Linked DNA regions of Homo sapiens: regions 1, 2, 3, 5 and 6 are each linked to region 4. Evidence: promoter capture Hi-C in 16 types of primary human blood cells and fetal thymus (Javierre and others, 2016). All regions are on one chromosome and are shown on one strand. Each heading gives the region's core, a stretch centred on a gene start or on the middle of the fragment in contact. The rest is flanking DNA. Distances are from core to core; before and after follow the strand shown.

What was found. Contacts are between HindIII fragments. The CHiCAGO score rates a contact against its expected background, and 5 or more counts as called.
Region 1: a fragment that was not itself captured here is called in contact with the fragment with the promoter of HNRNPK in region 4 in 2 of 17 cell types (total CD4 T cells and activated CD4 T cells); the score reaches 6.1 in total CD4 T cells.
Region 2: the fragment with the promoter of INIP here is called in contact with the fragment with the promoter of HNRNPK in region 4 in 2 of 17 cell types (activated CD4 T cells and fetal thymus); the score reaches 8.5 in activated CD4 T cells.
Region 3: a contact is called between a fragment that was not itself captured here and the fragment with the promoter of HNRNPK in region 4, in 1 of 17 cell types (fetal thymus). The highest score is 9.9, in fetal thymus.
Region 5: a fragment that was not itself captured here is called in contact with the fragment with the promoter of HNRNPK in region 4 in 1 of 17 cell types (activated CD4 T cells); the score reaches 10.2 in activated CD4 T cells.
Region 6: the fragment with the promoter of FKBP15 here is called in contact with the fragment with the promoter of HNRNPK in region 4 in 1 of 17 cell types (fetal thymus); the score reaches 5.4 in fetal thymus.

The regions. Positions count from the first base shown.
Region 1 is chr9:109,101,136-109,103,835 of GRCh38, forward strand. All of the region lies in intron 3 of TMEM245 (transmembrane protein 245), which reads right to left. Among named protein-coding and RNA genes, the nearest start is that of TMEM245, 17 kb to the right of the region's middle. The HindIII fragment of the contact is 738 bases long and covers 994-1,731 here.
Region 2 is chr9:112,716,763-112,719,462 of GRCh38, forward strand. It overlaps INIP (INTS3 and NABP interacting protein), which reads right to left and starts at 1,355. Exons shown (of 5, transcript NM_021218.3): 1 at 1,225-1,355. RefSeq lists an enhancer at 937-1,036 and a silencer at 1,407-1,566. The HindIII fragment of the contact is 2,113 bases long and covers 778-2,700 here.
Region 3 is chr9:114,383,074-114,385,773 of GRCh38, forward strand. All of the region lies in intron 1 of AKNA (AT-hook transcription factor), which reads right to left. Among named protein-coding and RNA genes, the nearest start is that of AKNA, 3.6 kb to the right of the region's middle. RefSeq lists enhancers at 1-449, 2,482-2,551, 2,572-2,621. The HindIII fragment of the contact is 708 bases long and covers 964-1,671 here.
Region 4 is chr9:83,978,954-83,981,653 of GRCh38, forward strand. It overlaps HNRNPK (heterogeneous nuclear ribonucleoprotein K), which reads right to left and starts at 1,262. Exons shown (of 17, transcript NM_031263.4): 1 at 1,200-1,262. RMI1 (RecQ mediated genome instability 1) reads left to right here and starts at 1,852. Exons shown (of 3, transcript NM_001358291.2): 1 at 1,852-1,938. RefSeq lists enhancers at 536-695, 1,516-1,565, 1,525-2,032, 1,606-1,665, 1,796-1,865 and 2 more and silencers at 1,236-1,375, 2,186-2,265. The HindIII fragment of the contact is 2,357 bases long and covers 209-2,565 here.
Region 5 is chr9:109,123,352-109,126,051 of GRCh38, forward strand. No RefSeq gene overlaps it. Among named protein-coding and RNA genes, the nearest start is that of TMEM245, 4.8 kb to the left of the region's middle. The HindIII fragment of the contact is 1,262 bases long and covers 731-1,992 here.
Region 6 is chr9:113,219,920-113,222,619 of GRCh38, forward strand. FKBP15 (FKBP prolyl isomerase family member 15) reads right to left here and starts at 1,358. Exons shown (of 28, transcript NM_015258.2): 1 at 1,272-1,358. The coding sequence starts at 1,324. SLC31A1 (solute carrier family 31 member 1) reads left to right here and starts at 1,625. Exons shown (of 5, transcript NM_001859.4): 1 at 1,625-1,759. RefSeq lists enhancers at 1,157-1,286, 1,397-1,506, 2,347-2,536. The HindIII fragment of the contact is 3,588 bases long and covers 594-2,700 here.

The sequences.
Region 1 (2,700 bases), core at 113-2,612, about 25 Mb after region 4:
ATAATAAATAAATAGAAGAGTACTCTGGGTCTAGGAACCAAACTCAGGCTTTGAATTCTGATGAAATCCAGGACTAATTCTGTGAGTCTAGTGAACCACAGCACAAAACCTTCAAAGCTCAGAAGACATAGAGAAAGATACCCACACAAGTGACTGGAAAACAAGAGCAAGTGATACAACGGGACACTGGAAATGACAAGGAAAGAGCCGATGCACACACTGTTGTGGCAGTATACTAAAGCATTCCTGTACCTACCTATATTACAGTGACATCTACAGCAGGAAACTGACTGTAAGTACAAGAGAAGGGCTGTCCCATTACACACCAGATGGTTTGAGTTCTGATTCTTAAAAAGAAACGATGTTCTTAGGGGCAAGAAGAAAAAAATACTCAGAAATTTAGGAAAAAGAAACACTTAAAAGATTTATTTTATGATGAGGATTATTTAGACTAGAAGTCCAGAAAGGGATTCTAGATCAATAATCACCTATCTTGACACAGGTTGAAATGAAAGTTAAACAAAATAAATAAAACCAAGATTTCCAAATCTGTACTCAACATTTATTCTGTGTGTCTGTGATTTCCTTCCTTGTCATAGCCTGTAATACAAATAACAGCAATCTGGCTTGCATATCAGCACATCACTACTCTAAGTTTATGGCTAGTATTCATAATCGACCATGGTCTTCTTTTTCCCCTTGCTCAAAAATTGGTCTTAGAAGTCTTATTACCCTTACAGTTTTCTAGGCTGCTGTCATGAGATGACTAGAATTTACACCGTAGAGAAAACCCAACCACAACCTTTGGTTTAGACTTGCATTACTTATATTCTTATAACAATTACTTACTTGGCCCTGGACAAAAGCAGTCAAAAGGGGAAACCATTCTGGCATAAGAGGTAAAGGGTAAGCAGAACTGTCTGAGTCACTTGCCATTAGGTGAAAGAAAACAAAGGAGATAAAACTAACCAGAAAAACAAGTCGAAACTGCCAAGCTTTCTACAGCAGTTGCCAAAACAGGAAATTTACTTCCACTAGTCAGATATATAACCACAGAGTCTAACAGATTATAACCAGGAAGACAGGCTGAACAAAGAAAACTTAGACACCAAAATATAAAATAAAATAAAATAAAATCTTCCCTATTTTCCACTGTCAGAGAGATATATAGTTATGGTTACTTTGTTTCAGGAATTTTAAAATTCTAAATATATATTTACAAATAAAAATATGGCTTACAATTGTTAGATATTACTCATTTATCAAATAAAATAATAAAAAGCAAATTAATTTTTAAAAACTTTTACAAGGTACCTGTACAAATACACCAGAGTACCACAAACAGCCTCATGATGAGAATAAAATGAAGATGTTAAAAATAATGCTCTATAAGTGTATTCATTGACACAGAAAGTTCCTCATGACATAATTAAGTTTAAAATGTGGGTTACAAAACAGAATGTTCACTGTGATCTAGTTTTTTTGTGTTTTTAAAAGCCTAAAGGCAAAACAACTATTAGTTAACATTTTGGTATAATCTGTAGACAGTGAGATTTTGAGTGATTTTTAGTTTCTTCCTTTTGTTTCTCTGTATTTCCTAACTTTACTGCAACACACATATTATCTGAGAAATTAATTCTTTTTAAAACATACTGCAGCTAGTAATCTGCTCTTGGAGTTTATTATCGCCATCAGAAAGAAGCAAGGAGTAAAGTATTGGTCAACTGTAGAAGCTTTGTGTTCAGATTTACCTCTCCAGTCACAGCTGCTTCCACACGGCTGGGTAACCAGAAGTCTGATCTGATGATTTGAGGACCACTACTATATCCTGACAACCTCCCCACTTACAACTCATTAGAGACCTCTACCTTTAACAAACTATTTGCAGATATAGGTCACTCACAGCCAGGGTACCTCAAAATAATCTTTAAAAGCACATGGTCTATTCAACTTTGTACTAGAAATTCCAACCAGAGCAATCAGGCAAGAAAAATAAATTACAGGCATGCAAATTAGAAAGGAAGAAGTCAAACTATCCCTATTGCAGATGACTGAACTTACATATGCAGAATCCTAAAGAATATACCAAAGAAACTACTGAAGCTAATAAATTCAGCAAAGCTGCAGGACACAAGATCAACAAGCAAAAAATCTGTTGTATTTCTACCCAGCAGCAATAAACCATCCAAAAGGAAAATTAAGAAAACAATTCCACATGATAGTATCAAAAAGAATAAGGAATAAATTAAAGGTCTAAGACATATACAAAGAAAACTACAAAACACTGCTGACTCCCATGTTTGTTGCAGCACTGTTCACAATAGCCAAAATTTGGAAGAAACCTAAATGTCCATCAACAGATAAATGGAAAAAGAACATGTGGTACTTATACACAATGGAGTACTATTCCGCCAAAAAAAAAGAATGAGATCCTGTCATTTGCAATAACATGGATGGAACTGCAGGCCATATAAGCTAAGTGAGACAAACTAGGCACAGAAAGACAAACACCTCATGTTCTCACTTATTTGTGGGATCTAAAAATCAAAACAATTGAACTCAGAGATAGAGAGCAGAAGGATGGTTACCAGAGGCTGGGAAGGATAGTGAGAGGGTACGGGGAAGCTGGAAGTGGTTATTAATAGGTACCAAAAAGTTTAAAAAAATGGACAGGGCGTGGTGGCTCATGCCTGTAATCTC
Region 2 (2,700 bases), core at 105-2,604, about 29 Mb after region 4:
GGTGAAACCCAGTCTCTACTAAAAATAAAATTAAAAAAAAAAATCAGCCGGGTGTGGTGGCAAGCGCCTGCAGTCCCAGCTACTCGGGAGGGCGAGACGGGAGAATCACTTGAACCCGGGTGGCGGAGGTTGCAGTGAGCCGAGATCGCGCCACTGCACTCCAGTTTGGGCCACAGAGCGAGACAGCGAGACTCGGTCTCAAAAAAAAAAAAAAAGAAAAGAAAGAAAGATACATTTGAAATGTACACAGACTGAAACAAATGTAAACTCTGCTAGTGCCTCAAGCATTTAATTAAATACGGCATTGTTTATTCTTGCAGATGTTCATACCATTTAGCATTACTGTCTTTAATAAACGTCATTAGGTTGTATTTACCAAATATATCAACCAATTGATAGAGTCAATATAATCATGGTGCTAGGAAGAAAAATCATTCATCTATGGTGTCTCTGCATTCGTCTAAAACACATACCCAAAAACTACTGTGTACACTGAAAGCTAAAAAAGGTAAAGGAGTACTGTATCTGCTCTGCACCATACACTGTGTAACATGCTCGAAATTAGTTCCTTTATTTATTTATCACCATTTTATAGATGAGGAAACCGTACCCAGGGTCATAGAGCTAGTAGGAATTATTTGGGCTGCTGGTTTCCAAACTTCGTGCTTTCGTACTAAATCCTGGGGAGATCCAAGATGAGCAAGACCCTAATCCTGCTTTCAGAAGGGAAAATAAAGTCTTATTCAAGCAACCATACTATTAATTAAAAAAAAAAAAAGCTTAACAAACCCGCTCTTTAAAAGGTGGGCACAGTGCCGGAGGCAAAGAATTGATTTCATTGGCAGCAAAGAGTGATGCCTTAGTCTAGGGAGCCCGGGAAAGACACAAGGGATAGAAAACAGACACCGGTTTTTAGTAAATGAATCGTTAGGTGTCTCCAGCGGCTGAAACACAGAGCGAGCAATGCGGGGTTAGGACTGGAGGACAACAGGGCCATCTTGTGACAGGGTAGACTGGCGTGCCAGAAAGGTCCCTGCCTACGGATGTGCAGAGCCGGCTGGGCCCGGGCTGTGAACGAGACGAAGGAAGCAAGTAGGAGCCAGAAATGTTAGGTGGCAAGGTCGGAAGGGAGGTCGCTGCCTGTAGCAACAAAGACGGCGGCGACAGGTTAGCACCGGAGCCACACTTTTCTATTGCCCGGTGCCTCCAGACTGTCGTACTTACCTGGGACCCGAGGACACCGGGACCGCCTCTCCTTACAATCGCTGCTCTTAAAGGGGGCGCGACCACTTAGGCAAGAGGAGCTCAACTCGCGGCACTACAACCTTCCCGCCCCCGCTGCGCTTCCGCCTCCTGACTGACGTGCGCCCCAGGGAGCGGAAACCCCGCCTCCCGCCGGGACCCAACGGCCACCGCCCGTCGTGATTCGCACTTTAGCGGCCACCTCAGTGCAGACGTCACTTTTTTTTCCAAAGAGTGACAGTCGAAGAGGCTCACGGGAGATGCAAACGGTACTTTTGGGGGCTGGGCCAGGGTGGGGCGTGGCCCGGGGCGGGGGAGGGGCGGGGCTGCCAGGCAGGGGCGGGACGGAGAACACCTGGGTCCCTAGCACCAAGACTGGCTTTTTATTCATTGCCACCGCCTGGCCGGTCTTGCGACGGTGCGAGTCCACCTCGGCTGGGCCTCGGAGGAGGGGCGACTCTAGAAGCTAAACTCGCTTTCGAGCTTTAACAACCATCTCGGATTGCGCATCCGCACACACACACACACACACACACACACACACACAAATTCAGGAATATTTTTTGTCTACAGTTTACATAATTATACACAATGAAAGCACTGAATATGGAGGATTTTTATTACAGTGCAATAATCTGCATTTAAGAAGTGGATGTGCCACATCGCAGAACACCAAGTTGCCACTAGTGGGATCACCTGCTGCCCACCTGATTCCAGCACAGTAGATAGCTACACATTTGAATTAAAAGGTAATCGTATATTGACATGTGTTCAAATTGCACTCTTTTTAATTTAAAAAAATATTTTTTATGGTGACAGTGTCTCGCTTTGTTGCCCAGGCTGGTCTTGAACTCCTGGCCTCAAGGGATCTGCCCACCTCAGCCTCCCAAAGTGCTGGGATTACAGGCGTGAGCCACCTGCCCTGCTTAAAATTGCAGTGTCTTAATCTCTTCCGAAAGATACATTTGAAAAACGCACAGACTTAAATCACAAATGTAAGCTCCCCAAGCGCCTCAAGCATTTAATTAAATAGAATGGATAATGAATTTGAACATATGTTTTTAATAATTGATGTTTGCTCAAGAGTAAAATGTTTATGATGCACAATTTTCTTGTGCATGGATCAATGACTGAAATAATCGTTTCAATATCAAGTATTTATTTACTGAAAACCAAGCATGTATTTACTCTATACCAAGCAGCTATTGAGTGCCTTCTACAATGCGAGGTGCTTCCTGTGCATCAGCTCTGGTCCTGCTGTTCCCTGATTTATATTTGAGACTCATGTTTCTTGCTCTATGTCAAGTAGCGAGCTAAGATTCAAATTTAAAGATCTGCCAGATGCTAAGGCCTGAGTTCTTAAATCTCACACATTGCCTCTGCTCTGGAGGAATGAATTCCTCTGAGACCAGTTCTTGCTGACTTGACTTTAATCCAGATATAAAGCCTAACACATGA
Region 3 (2,700 bases), core at 68-2,567, about 30 Mb after region 4:
ACCTGGGAGTGGTTTCGCCGCCGATGGCTGGGGTATTGAACACAGGGAAAGCCCATCAGAGGTGTGGTTTAAAAGTTCCCCTTGGGCTGCTCTGGGAGAATGAACCAGGGAGGCTGGCCACACGGGGGACCCGTCAGGCGGCTGCTGCAGGAACAGGGTAGCCAGAGAAGGGCTCCTCCGCTGCCTTCCCTCAACCCTCTCCTTCTTTCCCTCTTTCCTTCTCCCTCTCATCTCCTTTTGCCTCTTCCTTCTGACGCTCCTGCTATTTCCCTAAGCGCTTCCTCTATGCCAGCACTGAGCCAGGCCCAGGAAGTGCAAAGCTGACCCAGAGTGGGCACGGTCCCCCAGGGAGCTCCCTGCCATGGAGGGTTCAGAGAACTGCAGCCCATCAGTGCAGCGGCCCCCAGAGCAGCTCACACAAAGGCCTTCTTCCACAGATGGGGAAACTGGGATCCAGAGAGGGGAGAGGCCTTGCCTAAAGCCACACAGGGGTCAGGACAAGGCAGGGGTGAAAGTCAGCCTCCTGGCCCACAGTCTGGGCTTTCTCCCCTGCATGCTGTGTTGAAGGCAGTATGACTCCAGGCCTCCCAGGACAGAAGGTCTGTGTTTGTCCCTTTATCCTCATGAACACTTGGATCCTGCTTGATTTGTGTGGCTGAGAAAAGTCAGCAGGCAACTATTTTTGGACACAAAGTTCCCCAGGGAACAGTGCAGCCCGGGAAAGGCTGACTTCTCAAGGGCTGGAGGAGGGAGGTGCAGGGAATACCATTCTTCCCTCCTTGGCTGCGACTCCTGCTCTGTGGATGGGTGTTCGGGGCTTCTATCCTCTGTCCCCGCCCAGTCTTCCTCTCTACCCCCAAATGCAGAGCCCTACAATTTCCTCCAGATCACCCTGTGTATTGTCCTCCAGCCCCACAGTCCCTACCACATGTGAAGAGCCCACTCGGCGCCAGCCTGGGTTGAAGCTTTACTTTTAAATTCTCAATCTGCCCTCCTACAAACATGAGGGTAGAATTTGGCTAAGATCACCCAGCTACTTCCTGCCACAGCAAGATTTGCAACTGTCAATTCTGGCCTAGTGGTACCCCAATATTTTTTTAATCACACAATCCATCAGTAAAAATATATTTGCTCGAACACATCACGCTAATATATTACATGTATTGGAAAGAGTATTTTCAAAAGTGATCTTCTAAAAAGATGCAATCGAAAATGGGCCAGGTACAGCGGCTCACACCTGCAATCCCAGCACTTTGGGAGGCCGAGGTGGGCAGATCACTTGAGCTCAGGAGTTTGAGACCAGCTTGGGCAACGTGGCAAAAGCCTGTCTCTACTAAAAATAAAAAGGAAAAAGAAAATATATACAGGTGACCCTTAATGACAGTTTGAACCACACAGGTCTACCTATATGTGAATTTTCTTCTGCCTCTGCCACCCCTAAGACAGTAGATCAATCTCCCCCTTAACTCCTCCTCCTCAATGTGAAGATGACAAGGATGTAGGCCTTTATGATGATCCACTTCCACTTAATGAAAGTAAGTAGATTTTCTCTTCCTTATGATTTCCTTAATAACATTTTCTTTTCTCTGGCTTACTTTATTGTAAGAAAACAGTACATAATACATATAAGACAGAAAATATGCATTAACCAACTGTTTATGTTATCAGCAAAGCTTCCAGTCAATAGCAGGCTATTGATAAAGTTTTGGGGGAGTTAAAAGTTATAAGCAGATTTTTGACTGCATGAGGCACTCCTAACCCCTGTATTATTCAAGGATCAACTGTATTTTATTTTATTGAGACAGGGTCTCACTGTTACCCAGGCTGGAGTACAATGGCAATCAGAGCTCACTGTAGCCTTGACCACCTGGGCTCAAGCGATCCTCCCACCTCGGCCTCCTGAGTAGCTAAGACCACAGGTATGCGCCACCATGCCTGGCTAATTTTAAAAATTTTTTTTTGTCGAGATGGGGTTTTGCCACGTTGCCCAGGCTGGTTTTGAACTCCTTGTTTCAAATGATCCTCCTGCCTCGGCCTCCCTATGTGCTGGGATTACAAGCATGAGCCACCCACCCAGCTGGTCAACTATATTTTAAATAGAAGCTCTAATCCTTGCTTCTCATACCTTCTGCAGGGCCTGTACCCTTCTTGGAAATCCCTGCCAGGGATCTTAAGCTTCAGTGTGCTTAAGAATCCTCTAAGCGTGCAGTTTCCTGAAACAACCTGCAGAGAGCCTGACTCAGTGGCCCTGGGATAGGGCCCAGGAATCTGCATTTTAAACCAGGGCCTCAGGCAGGGCCTGCCCTTTGAAGTTCACTAGGCCTCCTGGCTCCTGCTGTTATGGCAGGTGGAGAAGAGGCTACAATTTAGCTGTTGCTTTTCTGATTCTGAAGCCTCTGCTGAGGAAGGGGCCGGGGGAGGTGTGCGGTTTTTTGACTTTTTAAAGGGCTTTTTTTCTAGCTCTGCCACAGAGCAGCCTGCCCAATCACAGAGCCCTCTGGGTGCACAAAGAGGAACATCCTGTCTTCTGGGATGACTCAGTCGTGGCAGAAATCTCACTGTAACCAGGGGAAGGTGCACGTCAGAGGCAGCTGCAGTGACTGACTAGAGTTTCGCACTTGCCCCCAGGCGCCTAAACCAGTGAGCCTTTCCTGAGCCAGGCCTCTGCCTTCCATGCGAGCCATGGCCCTCCTCACCACA
Region 4 (2,700 bases), core at 12-2,511:
AAATCTAATATAGGACCAGACCCAAACTACCACAATACCAGTCTATTATTAATCAGCGAAACAAATGGAGCCCTTGAAAACTAACAGTCACTAGCGGATTATTTTAAATTAGGCTTAAGGGAGTACAACACAACAATCATGCCTGTAACACGAAAACTAAAGTGTCTACGTGCCAAAACGGTCGATAGGACTACAAACAGCCTTTTTAAGCTTCCCTCTTGTCGGGACTAGGAGTTGACAAGCGGCCTCTACTAGAAGGTTGGCTAGACAGCAAAGAGCCAACAAGCGAGGCACATTTATGCCTCCCATTCTCCCATACCGTTGGTCGACTTATTGCTCTCCTAACGACAACTGAAACGACATCCTTCCGGCCCAGCACGCAATTTCTGAGGTGTGGTGGGAGAAGAGTTGGATAAGAAAGTTTAAGCAAAAACAGCAGGGCTTATCTGTAAGAATAACGTTGCCGCTTGCCGTTCACCCTTCGGGTCCTGCAGTCACTAGTCCCCAGGCCTCAAAAATCCGCTAAGTATGTGCTCCACTGGCCGAGCGCCAACGCGCCCTCCCCTCCCCGCCTCCCGGCACCGAGATCAAAAACAGCCGGGTAACAGGACGGGAAAAAGCGAAAGTCGACAGCAGAAGCACCGCACCTCTCCTCACCCGGATCCGACAGGAAATGGCGGCCCGCGTAATGGCGACTACGTGCTACTAGGCGGAGCCGAGCGCCGACCCCCTCCCCCACCCACCACGCGGTCCCGAGGTCTCATCCCCCGCATCCTCCCCCCACTGCCCGAGACAAAGCCATCGAGGCAGCCCTGACCGTTCCATCCCCGCCGCTCCAGCTCCGACCCCGGGCCGGGAGACCCAAGGTGAGGCGGGGCTCACACAAAGAGAGCGGCGGCGCGACCTTCTCCCCGCACCGGCCTCCTTTCCTCCACGAGGTCCCTAGTTCCCAGTGCCACATAGCTCCAGCTCATCCTAGAGGCACATGCCTCACGAATCCCCAAGTCTCTAGGACCACAACGCGGACTGCGGATACACGCTCAGGGAAATGGCGGAGGTGGGGGAGGGGACACCGGGCAACGTTCCCACTCGGAGAAGCGGCCAAACACCAAAGCGGCTCCCAGGACGCCTCCCTCAAGCGGAAAAACTGGGCTCCGACCCTCACCTCCACGAGCCGCTCCCCCAACCCGGCTCCTCACCGCGCGAGACTGCCGTCCCTCCGCTGCCGCGCCGCCTCAGCCGGTCGGAGCTAGACAGAAAACGAGCGCAGGCTCCCCTCCCCCGCCTTCTCGCGTCCTCCCCGCCGTCGCGCCCTATTGGCTGCCAGGGCTTCAGCGATGGTGCGAGGGCGAAGCGATTGGCCCGAGGCCACGTCAATCAAGGCGACGGAGGAGGCGACAACCCCGCCTCCCGCCAGCGCCTCCCTTCGGGCTGGGAGGCCACTAAGGGCTCGAGAAAACCCGGGCTTGGGAAAAGTAAACGCAGCCTTTCAGGGAGCCCCAACCCTTACCCGAATCAGCAATACCCAAGCTCCAATAACTCCAATTACCTATAGGCCGCGAACAAGTGGGACACAGGCAAGACGTCGAGGTCGGTGCAGCAGAGAAACAGAGGATAATGGCGTCTGCAGTGCTGTCGCCTGGAGCGCCCTCCTCCTTTCTCGTTCGCGCACTCACTAGCTGGGGGGAGGGGCGGCTAGGGGGCGAACCTCTCGCGAGATCTAACAACTGCCTAGTTCACGCGCACAGGGAGGGGGCGGGGAAGGGGCGTTTTCCAGCCCCGAAGGAGTCCTTTGGGGTTGGAGGAGGGGCGCGAGCGCGCGGCAAATCGGGCGGGAAGAGGTAAAAAAGGAACTGGGAGCGCGCCGCGGCGGTTCCTGTCCTTACAGTTGCGCTGCCCAGGGACCGATGTTGCGCGAGGAAAATGCGGGACGCCCAGGTCGGTGCTCGGCCCAGACTTATGCCCGTGTTTTCACAGCCCACACTCGTGCCCGAAGCCCCTTACCCCGCCCCGGGCTGTGGTCTGTGGGCTGTGGGACGAGCTGCGGCGCGGTAAGTGCGGGCCGTCTGCGTCCGCTGGGCCGGGCCCACGCTTCGGAAACCCGTTGTTTGTAATGGTCCGGGGCGCCCGTCAGTCAAGGCCGGGCCCGGGGGCGCAGCTGGCGGTTCTCGGCCTGCCTTGCGCCGGGGCGGGAGCCGGGGAAACGCGGGGCGAGCCTGGGAGTACTGGAGAACTTCTCGCCGAGAGGGCACAGGCGGTTTCACAGGGCTCTCGGTTCTGAGACTTTCCTCTTGGGTAATGGGACCTGAGATGGAAGTATTTTGTAGTGTCGTCGCTGTAGTTTATTCCGATAAAATTTTTAGGCAATATGTATTGCCCTTGTCTCCTAAAATGAATGCGTATCGCTGAATACGTTGCAGACCTCCACGTTCCATTCAAAGCGCCTGCCTTGTGGCAGTGATGAAAACAGACAAAAACCCTTGCCCTCAAACGTGCTCCTGTTCTAGCGGGTTCAGCGCACACTTGCATTGTATTCGGTTCCTTACTTTTAAGGCTCCTGTGCCAAGCTTTCATGACTTCCTTTGTTAAGGCACATAAGGTCACTTTCAATCGGTGACAGCCCTGGGAAATCTCCAGCCCTGGTAGTACCCGCTTTCCACATCCTTACTCGTCAACCTTCCAGCCTCCGCCCACAATCCC
Region 5 (2,700 bases), core at 112-2,611, about 25 Mb after region 4:
CTAGTCAATGGAACTCTAACAGAAATGAAGGCTGAAGCACTAGAATCTAACTAGACTAGTCTTTATGTGGCCTAGCACAAGGCTGGGTTCACACAGGGTTTCACTCACCCCTCCTGTGATTGTCCTCACCACACTGCAGTCAAAGTTAGTGGTTTCTGTGTCTGTCTCCCTACAGAGCCCCTTGAGAGCAGGGACTGGGCTTTCTTCATTTCCGTGGGCCCAGCACCTGGCACAGCATAGGACGTACTGAGTAGGAGCTAAGTGTTTGCTGAGCAAAAGAATGAATGAGTGGCGTCCTTTCAAAAAAAGCCTGTCTGTGCTTCCTGCGAGAGATGAAATTGAAAGCTGGGGATGTTTCTACTGAGCATCCATGTGGTTGAGAACAGAGAAAAATTAAAATACTGGAACATAGGACCTAAAAACTAAATTTGAGAAAGAAGCCCATTGTCCACTCAAATCTCAAGGTCATATGATTTTAGGTGTCTCCTCCAAAATACGAGGCTACTTGGGTTCTCTCTGTTGACCTTAACATGACAACTCACTCCAACAACCTCAGGGACAAACAGCCTCCATCGGCACGCAGGATACAGTAGAAGTGAAAGACATTCAGAGTCGTGGATCAAGCTGACCCTGGAGACCACACTGCCTCTTGCTTTCCAGTTGCATGAATGAATGAATTTTGTAATCATTTAAGCCAGTTTTGGTTAGGCTTCTATTACTTGAAACAGAAAGCTTCCTGATTTATAAAAATGGTTGCTGTGAAGGTGAAATAAGAAAGTATGTATAAAAGCAGCAGCACAGTGTCTCTGACATGGTGAGAATCTGACAGTGACTCTTGGGGTAACTCTTACTTTTGTCCTAGAAAAGATAAGGGGTATCTCTTAAACAACTGATACTCCCAAGGTATCAAGATAACATCCACCAGAGATATTACAAACACAGGCAGGGAGACGATTCTCCAGCATTGTGTCTGTTTTAGAGCTCTCCAAGTGTATCCACAAACATTTACTAAGGTGTGCTGAGTATCTGCTTTGTACAAAGTCCAGTGCTTACAATGTGGTATGTGCGTTGTGTGTAAGGTAGTATGTACAATGCAGAAGAAGTGATCATGTGAAAATGAAATCAGGGTGACATGCATTCAGATTCCAAATCTGCCACTTATTATCTGTATAATCCTGGACAAGTTACATAGCATCTCTGAGCTCAGTTTCCTCAGCTATAAATGGTGCATGATCCTTGTTCATAAGGTGGCAGTAAAGATTAAATTGGAGAATAACATATATTAAACACCCAGAGGCCAGGCGCGGTGGCTCACACCTGTAATCCCAGCACTTTGGGAGGCCAAGGCAGGCGGATCACCTGAAGTCAGGAGTTCAAGACCAGCCTGGCCAACATGGTGAAGCCCCATCTCTACTAAAAATACAAAAATTAGCCAGGCATGGTAGTGGGCGCCTGTAATCCCAGGTACTCAGGAAGCTGAGGCAGGAGAATCGCTTGATCCTGGGAGATAGAGGTTGCAGTGAGCTGAGATCACACCACTGCACTCCAGCCTGGGCGACAGAGCAAGGCTCTACCCAGGACATTGTGGTATCTCTCCATGGTCCAGGGCCACCACTTTGCGCAATTCCAGGGATACAATTCACATTTGGGGGCACTATTTACATTTGGCATCCCGTACAGATGTGCAACAACTGCCAAGAGCACATTGAGCTCCTTAGACCAACAACCATACATTGGACATCTCTTCTATCTTCATAGGACCAGCCTTCCAGATATATAACTCTCCTCTTGCCTATCTGGATAATTCCCATTCATCTTTCAAGCCTCAGCTCAAAATCATCTCCTTTGTGGAATTTTCCTGATCCAGGGAAACTTAGCAGCTACCTTTACTGTGTAGCACTTACAGCTATCTCTTCTCAAGTACCAACCACATTATATTGTAATCATTTTCACAAATATCTGAATTCCCCATTGGATCAAAAGTCATCGATAAGCTTTTTTGCATTTGCTCCAGTACTTTGCACACTTTTTTTTAATAATTAAAAAAAGTGAGTAGACACCATATTATTGTAGAGGCTGCAGGATGTGCTGGAAAGAACACAAGCTTTTAAGGCAGACAGATTTGGATTATAATCCTGGCTCTACTGCTTTCTTGCTGTATACCCTTGGATAAATTAACTTACTGAGAATGTTTCCTCATTTGTACAAGAGAGATAAGAAATCTACATTGCAGAGCTGTTGTGAGGACTAGAACTAGTTTATGTAAATAACTAATATGGTACTTGGCCACAGAGTAGTCATTACTTACCTTCCCTTGGGCTGCTTTATACACAGCACTTAGCTGCCATGAACTGAACCCAGCTATGATGGTTACTTTACAATAGAAATTCAAACAGTGACTACTGGAATAGTTATAACAAGGTCTTTTATTACAATTACTATAAACCAAGGCTGGCAATTGCATGGCATGTGAATTACTACTTTCCTTTGCTAAGTCCATGGCAAACATTATTAATCTATCACTGAACTATCACTGAATTCTTTCTCTTTTTTTTTTTTTTTTTTGAGACAGAGTGTCACTCTGTCACCCAGGCTGGAGTGCAGTGGCACGATCTCAGCTCACTGCAACCTCCGCCTCCCAGGCTCAAGCAGTCCTCCCACCCCAACCTCCCTAGTAGCTGGAACCACAGGCACATGCCA
Region 6 (2,700 bases), core at 108-2,607, about 29 Mb after region 4:
GGTAGGAAGGGAACAGAGTGGTGAGAGTGAAAAAGACTAAAAGGTAGGTAATATAGAGCTAGTCAGTGTAAATCAAAAATTCCTACTTAAGGACAAAAGAAGGCCAGTGTCATTTTATGGTCATTCATCTATTAACTCATTTGTTTATGTATTGTCTATGACTACTCTCACCCTACAAGGCAGAACTGAGTATTTGTGGTTGCAATAGAAACCACATGGCCCAACAGATCTGGAAGCAACTTAAGGGCAGGCACAGCAGTTTAATCATTTTTGTAACCTCTTAGCATTTAGCAGAATAAGGGGCATATGTGGTGCATTTGTCATTTTTCCAGTACATTCTTCAGCACGCACAAAATTTGTTAAGCATATGTTCAAAGAAAAGCTCTGCAATGATCAGAGCTTGGTAGCTCACAAGTTTGGAGGAAGTCAAGCTGTCCACTGGCACAACACAATGGAAAAGGCTAAACTGACTACTAAAAGAGACAAAACCCTTCCTCTCTTTAAAGATTTCTATTCCAGGCTGGTATATATTAATATAATGCTTGGGGAAACTGGAGAATGACAGAAGTCTGTTACGTTGGTTTTAAGCTTTAAGCTTTACAAAGTGCAATTTCGCAGCTATTATTCATTCAACAGCCACTTCCTGAGCACTCACTATGTGCTAGGTACCATGCTGCATGCTAGACAGAAATGAACACCATAAGCAGTCCCTGTCCGGTGAGGACTCATAATCTAATAGGTGCGGGGTATAAGAATAGAGGCAAACACACCTAGCTGCAGGAATAAGGAAGAGAAAGCAATTCATTCTGCCTGAGGTTGCAGAAGGAAAAGCATCCAAAACGTGACATCCGAGCTGGGCCTTGAAGAATGCTAGAGCTGACCCACCAAGGCCTGGTTCTAAAGTGTCTTCGCCTTCTCCATGGAGAAAAGAAGTCTCACATCAGCCCCAGCTGACTCCTATAAAAATTCTGAGGCAGGAAGTCTCATCAGCAATCATTCCCATTTCACCGGAGAAATTGTGACCCAGAATGCAAAAGGCAAACCCAGGGCTATCTTCCCGCCAAGAGAGATGCCGGGTCCCGAACCTCAGATCGGCAGGGTCAGCACAGTTGCAAGTTCTGCCCAGATTCTGAGAGGTGTAGAGCACCGGAATGTGGCAAGGGTCTCCCCCCGGAAGTTGGGAAAAGGCCTGAGAAGAGATCGACCCCCCTCCAACAATCCGCCGGTATCTCTCAGCCACGCCCTCCAGCGCATACTTCTCAGTCACTCACCCGCCGCTCGGCGAGAGGAAATCGGTGTCGTCCTCGTCCCCCGCACCGAACATTGCGTTGGCTTTCACCGGGTTGCGGGGAGGAAGCTGGGTATTCCCAGAGTCCCAGGGCCTGTCACCGCCGACGTCGTAAAATGCCGCGGCGGCGTGCTGCTTTCCGGCAGGGCGAACTCCAGCACGGTCTCTGGACCGAAAGTAGACTGGGCTCTGGAGAAGGTGGGGCAAAGGCAAATGAGAGGCTCGCGCGGGCACGAGCGCCGAGTGACGTCAGGCCTCTCCAGCCCGCAGCGGGGCGGAGCTTCACAGCCCCTTGCAGGGATTGGTCGGTAATGCTAGGGGGCGGGAGGGGGCGGGAAATCCTCGGCCTCGGTGGCGGTGGTGGACACGTCGAGCCGGGTAGAAGTGGAGGGGCCGTTCGAAGAGTCGTGAGGGGGTGACGGGTTAAGATTCGGAGAGAGAGGTGCTAGTGGCTGGACTTGACCTGGAAAGGTAAGGCTTCTCTCGGCCCCTCTTTCGCACCCCTGTGCATGGGTACCGTCCTTTTCCCAGCGGGACAAGGACCTTCCTCGCCGCTTTCCTCAGCTCCGCGGAAGGAGAAAGAGCTCGGGACTGGAGGGTTAAAGACTGGGGCTTCGGCCCGGCCCCTGCAGTGGCATAGCCAGAGTGACCTTGGGCCGGGGTGCTCGGTGCCTCAGTTTCCCCGTGTATGCAACCGGCCATTTGTCCAGTTCTTCCATGTGCCTGCTGGTCCAGAAGATTTTAGAGCTCAGAGGCCATGGATTTCAATCCCGGCCTCCTCGTAATCTCAGAATTTACAGATAGGGAGACGAAGGAACTAAGCACCCGGGTGACTAGTCCGAGGTCACAAAGAGTAAAGGGCAGACTGAGACTGGATTCCTCGTCCTTTGATTCAGGACATAGTGAGCTAGTGGGTGAACAAGAACCTTATCAGCCCTTAAGCACTGTGTGCCCTTACAGAGTGACTATTGAAAGACTGTAGCATACACCTCGAGGAAAGTCCCCTTTCTAGAGTCCACCTGTATTCTACGCGGATGAGGTGCAGAAGAGCTAAGATATTCTGGCGGTGGGTGATGGAAAGGAGGATACTTTGGAGGCAGACACATCCCCACCCCAACTTTGGCGTGGGTTTCCCTGGGTCTTCCTGCGACAGCCCTAAATCAACATCAATTGTGGCGGACTCCTCTGCCTCCAGTTTCCACCCTATCTGTATCTTACATAAGTATTTCTTTGGTTAACCTGGTATCATTCTCGAAACAATCCTGGGGTAGTCCTGGCTTAGACAAGGTGTGGCTAAGGAGATAGTGTCCCAGCGTAGCGTCCACAGACTCACTGGAGTTCTTGGGCTTCCCCTCACAGTCAGGTTGGTACTACAGGTGTCCCTTACGTGAATGTTTCAATCTGTCAGTATG